2 separate regions of the Homo sapiens genome follow, and region 1 is linked to region 2. Evidence: promoter capture Hi-C in 16 types of primary human blood cells and fetal thymus (Javierre and others, 2016). All regions are on one chromosome and are shown on one strand. Each heading gives the region's core, a stretch centred on a gene start or on the middle of the fragment in contact. The rest is flanking DNA. Distances are from core to core; before and after follow the strand shown. Region 1 has its middle 33 kb from the start of PHLDA1-AS1. Region 2 holds the start of KRR1 (KRR1 small subunit processome component).

The links. Contacts are between HindIII fragments. The CHiCAGO score rates a contact against its expected background, and 5 or more counts as called.
Region 1: a contact is called between a fragment that was not itself captured here and the fragment with the promoter of KRR1 in region 2, in 1 of 17 cell types (megakaryocytes). The highest score is 6.0, in megakaryocytes.

Annotation. Positions count from the first base shown.
Region 1 is chr12:75,995,101-76,000,243 of GRCh38, reverse strand. No RefSeq gene overlaps it. Among named protein-coding and RNA genes, the nearest start is that of PHLDA1-AS1, 33 kb to the left of the region's middle. The HindIII fragment of the contact is 3,161 bases long and covers 36-3,196 here.
Region 2 is chr12:75,508,705-75,513,643 of GRCh38, reverse strand. KRR1 (KRR1 small subunit processome component) reads left to right here and starts at 2,035. Exons shown (of 10, transcript NM_007043.7): 1 at 2,035-2,131. The coding sequence starts at 2,047. RefSeq lists enhancers at 2,068-2,227, 1,734-2,277, 2,278-2,822. The HindIII fragment of the contact is 5,214 bases long and covers 109-4,939 here.

The sequences.
Region 1 (5,143 bases), core at 367-2,866, 490 kb before region 2:
CTTGAAAGGAGAAGTCAATGCCTGGCTTCAAAGCTTCAAAGGACAGGCTGACTGTCTTGTTAGGGGCTAGTATAGCTGGTGAGTTTAAGTTGAAGCTAATGCTCATTGACCATTCCAAAAGTCCTAGGGTCCTTAAGAATTATTCTAAATCTACTCTGCCTGTGCTCTCTACATGGAACAACAAAGCCTAGATGACAGCATATCTGTTGACAGCATGGTTTACTGAGCATTTTAAGCCCACTGTTGAGGCCTACTGCTAAAATATATATATATTCCTTTCAAAATATTACTGTTCTTTGACAAAATGCATCTGATCACCCAGGAGCTCTGATGGAGTTGTACCAAGAGATTAATGTTTTTGTGCCTGCTAACACTACATGCATTCCTCAGCCCGTGGATCAAGGAGGAATTTCAAATTTCAAGTTTTACTATTTAAAAAATACATTTCATAAGGCTATAGTTGCCATAGGTACTGATTCCTCTGATGGATCTGGGCAAAGCAAAATAAAAACCTTCTGGAAAGGATTCACCATTCTAGATGCTATTAAGAACATTTGTGACTCGTGGGAGGAGCTCAGAATATGAACATTGTCAGGAGTTTCGAAGAAGTTGATTCCAACCCTCATGGATGACTTTGAGGGCCTCAACACTTCAGTGGAGGGAGTAACTGAAATGTGGTGAAAATAGTTAGAGAACTAGAATTAGAATTAGCCTGAAGATGTGACTGAATTGCTACAATCTCATGCTGAAACTTGAATGGATGAGGAGTTGCTTCTTATGGATGAGCAATGAAAGTGACTTCTTAAAATGGAATCTACTCTTGGTGAAGATGCTGTGAACATTGTTGAAATTAGGACACAGGATTTAGGCTGGGCATGGTGGCTCATGCCTGTAATTCCAGCATTTTGGGAGGCCAGTGCAGGCAGATCACTTGAGGTTAACAGGTCAAGAGTTGGAGAACAGCCAGGCCAACATGGTGAAACCCCATCTCTACTAAAAATACAAAAATTAGCCAGGTATGGTGGCACATGCCTGTAATCCCAGCTATTTGAGAGGCTGAGGCAGGATAATCACTTGAACCTGGCAGGCGGAGGTTGCAGTGAGCCGAGATCTTGCCACTGCACTCCAGCCTGGGCAACGGAGATTCTGTCTCAAAAAAAAAAAAAAAAAGAACAAAGGATTTAGATGATAAAGCAGTGGCAGGGTTTGAGAGGATCGACTGCAATTATGAAAGAAGTTCTACTGTGGATAAAATGCTATCAAAACATATTGCATGCTACAGAGAAATCCTTATGGCAAATTTCATTGTTGTCTAATTTTAAGAAATTGCCACAGCTGCCCCAACTTTCTGTAATCACCATCCTGATTAGTCAGCAGCCATCAACATCGAGGCAAGACCCTCTACCAGCAAAAAGATTATGACTCACTGAAGGCTCAGATAATTGTTAACATTTTTTAGCAATAAAGCATTTTAAAATTCAGGTATGCACATTATTGTTTCAAATATTATGTTATTGTGCACTTAAAGACTACAGTATAGTGTAAACATAACTTTTACATGCACTAGGAAATCAAAAACTTTGTGTGACTTGCTTTATTATGATAATTACTTCTTTGTGGTGGTCTGCAATATCTCAAAGATATGCCTGTCCTGTGTTCAGGTTAATTGCCTCCAAATACTGCTTTTCATGTCTTAATACCTTGCTCAAGCTCTTTTAATAATTACCCAATCTCTGAATACAGCTCTAACTCATCAGTTTTGCATTCCAACACCTCCCACTTTTACAAAGTCCCTCTGACTTTTACAAAGTCTCATTCCAAACTTTTTTTATTTTTTATTTTTTTAGAAGGAATCTTTCTCTGTCACCCAGGCTGGAGTACAGTGATGCACGATCTTGGCTTACTGCAACCTCTGCCTCCTGGGTTCAAGCGATTCTTTTGTCTCAGGCTCCCAAGTAGCTGGGATTACAGGCATGCACCACCACGTCTGGCTAATTTTTTTATTTTTAGTAGAGACGAGGTTTCACCATGTTGGCCATGCTGGCCTCGAACTCCTGACCTCCAGTGATCTGCCCGCCTTGGCCTCCCAAAATTCTGGAATTACAGGCGTGAGCCACTGTGTCCAGCCCCCAAATGTTTTTTCATCCATTTCCTGTACAGAGGCAGCCGGTGACAGTCAAATTTTGTTTCCATATCTAGGTGTTGCTACTCATTAGCTGTGGATCCTTTTCTGAGCCTCAGAATCTTCATCTTGAAAATGGACACAATAACTTACTATGATGCACCGAGAAGAACATAGCATCGTTTCTCTAATATGCTTGCCCAAATTGTATAAGCTCATTCTAATCATGAGAAAACATCACACAAACCTAAACGGAAGGACATTCTACAAAATAACTGACCAGCACTCTTCAAAAGTGTCAAGGTCAGGAAAAACAGGAAAGAATGAGCAACAGGCACAGGAGGAAATCAAGGCAACAACAAATGCAATATAGGATTCTGGATGGATCTTGGACCAGAAAAAGGACATTAGCAGAAAAACTGGTGAAATTTTAATAGAGTCTGCTTTTGAGTTAATAATGTTGGCACCAATGTTAATTTACTCTTTGATCATTATACCATGGTTATGTAAGATGTTAACATTAAAGGAAGCAGGGTGAGGGATATAAGAACATGCTCTATACTATTTTTGTGACTTTTATGTAAGTCTAAAATTAGTTCAAAATAAAAAGTTTAAATTGAGATAATAATATGTACATTACAGGAGAAATTATAAAATACTAACTAGAACCCTGAGGGCATTTATTATGTCCTTGCCACAGGAACTTTATATGTATTTAGTCATTATGATAACCCTATGTGGTAGGAAATACTTTTCTCAGATATGGTTATCTGACACTTAGTAAGAGTCCCCGGAGTTCCAGCAAACTTTTTTCTATTTACTGCTGCCCAAACATGTCCACTTTTGGAGTTTCTGTAAAGTCTCTTGGGGCCCTTTTTGCTACTCTGGACATCTGGAACTCCTATGTCTGCAGTACTCATTTAGCACTAATTTTGTGCAACTTGGTATTGTTAATTTTCTGTGTCTTATTATCCCAGCTAGAAGGCAACTTCTTGAAAGCAGAGGACTGGATTTCACAGATGTTTGGATATCTCCCAGTATCTGGCACCAAGAGTCTTGGATATCACTCAAGCTTGCACTAACAATCTTGGATATCCCATAGTGCCTTTCAGTAATAATCTTGGATATCCCACCATGCCTTTCACCAGGAATTTCCCATGTGCTTCATCATCCTTGGATCTCCAAGAATAACTCATCTTGGCTGGGCCTGGGACCAGTTCTCTGGCCTTTCTAGAGTTGTAGACATTGGATTCTGGGGTACGAGGCAATATTAGCAGTTGGCTTCTTGGATGATTTCCTGGAAAAGCGCACATTGCAATCTGACTTCTAGAGTGAAATTCAGCAATCATACACTTTAAAAAAAAATTGGGGTAAAAAACACATAACATAAAATTTACCATCTTAACCATTTTTAAGTGTACAGTTCATTAGTGTTAAGTATATTTCCATTGTGAAACAGATAGCAATCATACAGTTTTTAATTTCAAAAAATATGTTAGCTATCCAGAATATATGACAGACTCTCACCACTTAATAAAAATAGAACAAGCAATAATAACATCCAAACATGAGCTAAAGATTTAAATGGACATTTCATCAATAAAGATACACAGATGACCAATAAACACGTGAAAAGATATTCAACATCATTAGTCATTAAAAAAAAGAAAGTTAGGCCGGGCATGGTGGCTCACTCCTGTAATCCCAGCACTTTGGGAGGTGGAGGTGGGCAGATCATGAGGTCAGGAGTTCGAGACCAGCCTGGCCAGCATGGTGAAACGCTGTCTCCACTAAAAATACAAAAAATTAGCCGGGCACAGTGGCATGTGCCTGTAATCCCAGCTACTTGGGAGGCGGAGGCAGGAGAATTGCTTAAACCTGGGAGGTGGAAGTTGCAGTGAGCTGAGATTGCACCACTGCACTCCAACCTGGGTGACAGAGAGAGACTATGTCTCAAAAAAAAAAAAAAAAAAAAAAAAGGAAAGTTAAAACCACGATGTGATACCTATTAGAATGGCTTAAAAAAACTGAGAACATGGAGTGCTGGCAAGGATGTGGAGTTACTGATATTCTCATACATTGGTGGTGGAATGCAAAAAAGGAAGGGCACTTTGAAAAAATAGTTGGCAGTTTCTTATATGTTAAATGTACACTTACCATATAACCCATAATTCCCACTTCTAGATATTTACACAAGAGAAATAATGACATATACCCACACTGAAACCTGTATGTGAATGTTTACATCAGCTTTATTCATAATCCCTGAAAATTGGAAGACAGCCCAATGTCTATCCACTGGTGAATGAAATAGATGAACAACTTGTAGTATATCCAGACTACTTCTCAATAGAAAGGAGTGGACTACTGATACTACAACCACATGGATACATCTCAGATACATTGTGCTAACTGACAGAAACCAAACTCAAAAGCTACATGATTTGATTACTTTGATATAACATTTGGGGAACGCAAAACTACAGGGACAGATGGGGTGGGGAGAGGGTGAACTATGTAGGGCACTTTTATGGTGAGATATCCTATATCTTGATTGTTGTGGTTACACAACTCTTTATGATGGTTCAAATTAATAAACTGTATACTTAAATAAAGTTAATTTTTATTGTGTAAATTATAGTTCAATTGACCTTGCTTTAAAGAACTACATTAGCTATTTAGTACTTCAAATATAATTAGCCACTTAATTTATGGTGTTGCTATCAGAAATAGCTGGATTAAGGAGGAAAAACCTAATATGTAGGTAGATTTTACTTTGCTTTGGACAATGTGGCTAATGCCTGTTTTTCTCTTGACTCAGTTGGTTTAACATTTGTCCTACATAATAGAGACCTAGTTTAGATAGTAAATTATATAGTTATGTTAGGATTAGGACAGTGTGGGAAACATAGCAATACCTTGTCTCTACTAAAAATTTAAAAATTAGCCTGGATCAGTGGTGCTCTCCTGTGGTCCCAGCTACTCAGGAGGCTGATATGGGAGGATTGCTTGAGCCCAGGA
Region 2 (4,939 bases), core at 786-3,285:
ACTGTATAATTATATATACCCTTCAGTATATGATTAATAGTCATTATAATTAATATTTTTAAATTAATTTGTGATTTTTGTTGCAGGATTCATTTTTTAGTAAAAGCTTTTATATCCTATATGTAAGATAACTCCCTATTCCTGTGATATAACTTGTGTTAGATTATGGGTTCTGGAAGGCAAGTAACAGACTTAAAAAAATTCACTTAACTTCCAATCATATATTGTTTTTATATTGTATATTCAGTTGGTGGACAACATGAGGGCTTTTGAGTTAGGGAAGGGAAAGAATCACTTAATACTGAAATAACTTATTGTAGGAGCCTGATGAATCTTTTCCTTTGGAAAGCAGACAGTTTTAGTGTGGTGTCATCTATAATAGGAGGTCTTGAGGACGTTAGAGAATCTTAGAACTCAATTATTATCCATGTTTTTACACCCCTTTCAGTAATGATTTGGAAAAAGATGTAAAAATTTCAAAAAGGGACAGGTGAACTGTGGGCTCTGCATAGTATGGTAATTAAAAGGTTGGGTTTTACAAACAGACTCAATAGTGCCAAGAAAAGGATGGGTGGGTTTTCGTTTTCCCATCTCCATCATATTCTCAATATTCCTCAAATAATAGCAATACTAAGATTAAAAATATACACGTAAATGGGAAGAAAAGCCTATGTAGAAAATTTTGCTATAAAATAAAGGGCTTTAACACAAATATTATTTCTAGACTATTCCCTCCCCTTAATCCCTATCAGCCCTCTAACACATTTGAAGCTCCTAATGAATAGTAGCCCCCTGAAGCTGCTAGGTCAAACTGCCTGAACTTGAAGACGGGCCTTCCACTTATTAGTGATTGAGTTACTTAAAATAAGAATGATAAAAACCTGCTTCATGAGGTGTACTCCTCACTTTATAACTTTCACCTGCTGCTATCTGTTCTATTTTAGGAATTTATCATTTTTTGAGGAAATTAAAAGAACAGAGATAAAATCCCTGTCATTTATAAAACTCACAGGATAAAAACAAAAAACCCCTCTGTCGTGGGTTCTTCTGTCCATATGTAACAATCTGTTTCATACCTGGATCTCATATATGAAAACCTAAATTATTGTATAAGATACACGAGAGTGGATTTATCAGACAAACGTGTATTTCACTAATGCAAGGAATTTAACCTATCAAAGACTTTCCCTATTTGCTGCAGAAAATTTTAGAAATGCAAGCAATAAAATCAAAATTTAAAAAAATCTTATATTTGGCATGTCGAAGAACTCTTATACTTCCAAAAGTGTAGTTATTTGTAGTTAGTGATGAACCTCTCTACACATCTTAGCCCTATGTAATGTTGGGGGTAGAAAAGGAGTTTAGAGATTTTGAGAAATCTTAGGCTAGTTGAAATACTTCAGAAACGTCAGGATGTTGAATTACCATCCCTCTGACTTAGAGAAATACCAACACTCGGGAAGATTACCATCAGAAACAACTTTGAAAAGTTTAATTTTGTCACTGTTTTTAAAATTAGAAATAATGTAAATAAAGTACTGAAACAAAGTAGTCTCACAATAAATAGTAGCTATTCCTGTCACTTGTTGCAGTGGAGGCCCAATATACATTGTATTCTCATATTTGTACTTCCTCCCAACATCTAGCGCATATTTGGCCAACATATAAATATTTATCGAAAGAATGAATGACATCAATGACAGGTTGGTAGCACTCCGCTGTCCGATGGTCCAGGTTAGGCCGTGAGGCCACGAGGAAACTACGGATAAAACAGTATCCAATTTGCCTATACCGCCTGCTAAACTACAAGTCCCAGTACGCAAACTCCATGGTTTCAGGGCATACTGGGAGAAAGTCTCCGGCTCTTCATTGGCCACGTAGGAGAAGCTGTGGTTTGTGTAAAAGCGCGGGCTTAACGCACGTACGCACGGAGACTGCGCAGATCTCCTCGTCTGAGTTCCGCGGAACTCATTTTGAGTGTAGGCGTTTTAGCCGGTAGGGTTTAAGAACAGTTTCATTTCCGGAGCCACCGGAAGCAGCTTGCAAATGGCGTCTCCCTCGCTGGAGCGGCCAGAAAAAGGCGCTGGAAAAAGTGAATTTCGTAACCAGAAGCCGAAGCCGGAGAACCAAGGTGATGTTATGTGGGAACCGAAGCCTGGGGTTTGTGTACGTTGAGTTGCGATGTTTTTTTCTTTCGTTCCTCGTGGACTTATAAAACCACCTGGAGCCTGTACTGTGTAGTTGAGTACCTGAATAATCGCTGATAAGATTTTGGCTGGGCCCACAGGAACGGCTGGCCGATATGGTGCCACCCAGGTGTTCCTAATTCATTGCTTTTGCTAAAGGGTCCCCAAAGCGAAGCTGTTGCGGATTACGTCTTTTGTAAAAGGATGAGTATTAAGAAAATGCCTAGGGCGACGCAGAACCTTGTAAGCCTGCGGGTGGCTGAAAGTCACTGACGGAATGAGGAATAGGGTGAGGTGGGAATAGGTAGTCATGATATACAAGAGTGGACCCTGATAATGGGGTGAGGTATGGGGAAAGGAGCTATCCGACATGTCCTTAGCTCTAGTTTGTCAGTAAAGACATTTTGAAAGATTATCAATTCCTGTTTGTCAGATGCTAAAATATTAGACGACACAGCCCTTACTGTTTAGGTTGTGTTACCTTTTAATTGTTAACTCCTGCGTTGTAGTCTGGTTTTACCCGTTTTCTTCAGTGTGAATGATAGAGAAGTCATAAATAGCCTGGGGATCTGTTCAACCAGGCTTATAGGAAGTGTTAAAAACATTGAACTCTCAATTTAGATGCATTGGGAAAGTATTCAAAGTTTCTTTGTTGTTGCTCATTAAATGATTATGTAACGTACATAGCAGGGGATACAACTTATATAGAGTTTAATAAAACCATGCGGGAAACTAGCATTCAGACTAAGTAAAATAGAGCATTACCATACCCCTCAAACCCTTACGTGCACCTCTCAGATCATATTCTCTTTTCCTGTATCAGACGTAACCACCCTGAATTGTGTTGCATTCTGTTCCTCTTCTTGTAGTCATGAAGTGGCTTAATTTAGCCTGTTTTTTAATTTTATATACATGAAAGTGGACCGTATGCATTTTTCTGTGTCTTCTTAGATTTAGCTTTTTGTTTTTCAAACAGGGTGATACTTGCGGGTGTAGTTTTAGTCTTTTCACTGTTATGTGGTGTTTCCTTGTATGAATATACCCCAATTTATTTTTTCATTTTACTATCGGTGGACATTTGGATTGTTCCCAATTGCTTGCAATTATAAACAATACTGCTAAAACATCTTTGTACATGTCTTCTGGTTAACATGTTCAAGGGTTTCTCTAGGTTGTGAACATAGGATTGGAATCACTGAAGTGTAGGGTGTGTGTAAGTAATGCTAACTTTTTTCCAAAGTGCTAGTGTCAGTTTTGTTCCCACTAGGAGTGGACGAAAGTTGTCATTGCCTTACATTAGTATGAATACATGTTATCTGAATTTTGAATTTCTGTCATTTTGGTAGTTATGAAATGGTATTTGGTTGCAGTTTTAGTTTGCATTTTCTGATCACCTATGAGGTTGCATATCTTTTCACATGTTTTGAGGCTTCCTTAATTGTGAAACTCCTGAGTATTTCTTTTGTCAGTTTTTTTCCTGAGGTTGTAGTGGGGATTTTAAAAAAAATTATCCATAGCCTTTGAAGTGTTTAAATTGGATAGGGACTTCGTCAGGTAAACATTGTAAGTAACTAGTTGCAGTGACTCACACCTGTAATCCCAGCACTTTGGCAAGCTGAGGAGGGGGGATTGCTTGAGCCCAGGAGACCAGTCTGGTCAACATGGCAAAACCCTTTCGCTACAAAAAAAAAAAAAAAATTAGCCGGACATGATGGCACATGCCTGTAGTACCAGCTACTTGTGAGGCTGAGGCAAGAGAATAGATCGCTTGAGTCCAGGAGGTCCAGGCTGCAGTGAGCTGGGATGGAGCCATTGCACTCCAGCCTGGGTGACAGAGCGAGGCCCTGTCTTTAAAAAAAAAAAAAAAAAAAGAAATGTGTATAGTATATAAGTAATCACTTTTGTGGAATTCGTGTTCTTTAAAGGACATTGGAGAATCCTTTATATGAAGACTAGCCAATTGTCTGTGATTTGAACCAGAAATAGCAACGTGGATGTGAGTATAAGCAGAAAGTTTACCTGTCTGAGGCTGCTAACATAGGGTAATGACGTGTTTTTCAAACTTTACCGTGCTTAAGAGTCTCCTGTTGAGCATGGTAAAACACAGATTCTTGTCCCTCGTCGAAGAGATTCTCATTCAGTAGGTCTGTAGTGGGGCCCAATAATTGCATTTCTGACAGACTTACAGTTTGTGCTGATACTGCAAGTCTATGGATCATACCTTTGAGTATAACTGAATTAGAGTATAGCTATTGAAATTAAGGAGTTCTTCAAATTCAAGATCAAGAGTTTTTTAAATAAATGATTCAGAAGATAATTTACGGCCCTTAGGAGGCATTTTCTTGTAGTGAAAGGAGTCCCAGGCTGAGTGAGCTTTGTGTTCCCTTAGGCAAGTCACTTAACCTTTTTAGACCATCTTCTATAAAATGAGAATAATAATACAGATTCTACCTTTTATAGTTACGATGAAAGGCGTATGGAAATAAGGCACTCAAAATGCTTAGGAAAATCTAGAATTACCAGTGATTATTAACTGAAAGATAAACTAGAATTCTCTTTCAGAAGTTTTACACAAACACATACATCCAGATTCCATACACTCCAGGAAAGTCAGAAAGGTTAATTGTATTTAAAATACTAACCAAAATGGCATTCAAATCTTCAATTTTATGATAGTGTAGTGCAGTACATGTTTCTGGAGTACTCACTATCTGCCTGGCATATGCCAACTAGTGTGAAGAGGGTTTCTGCTC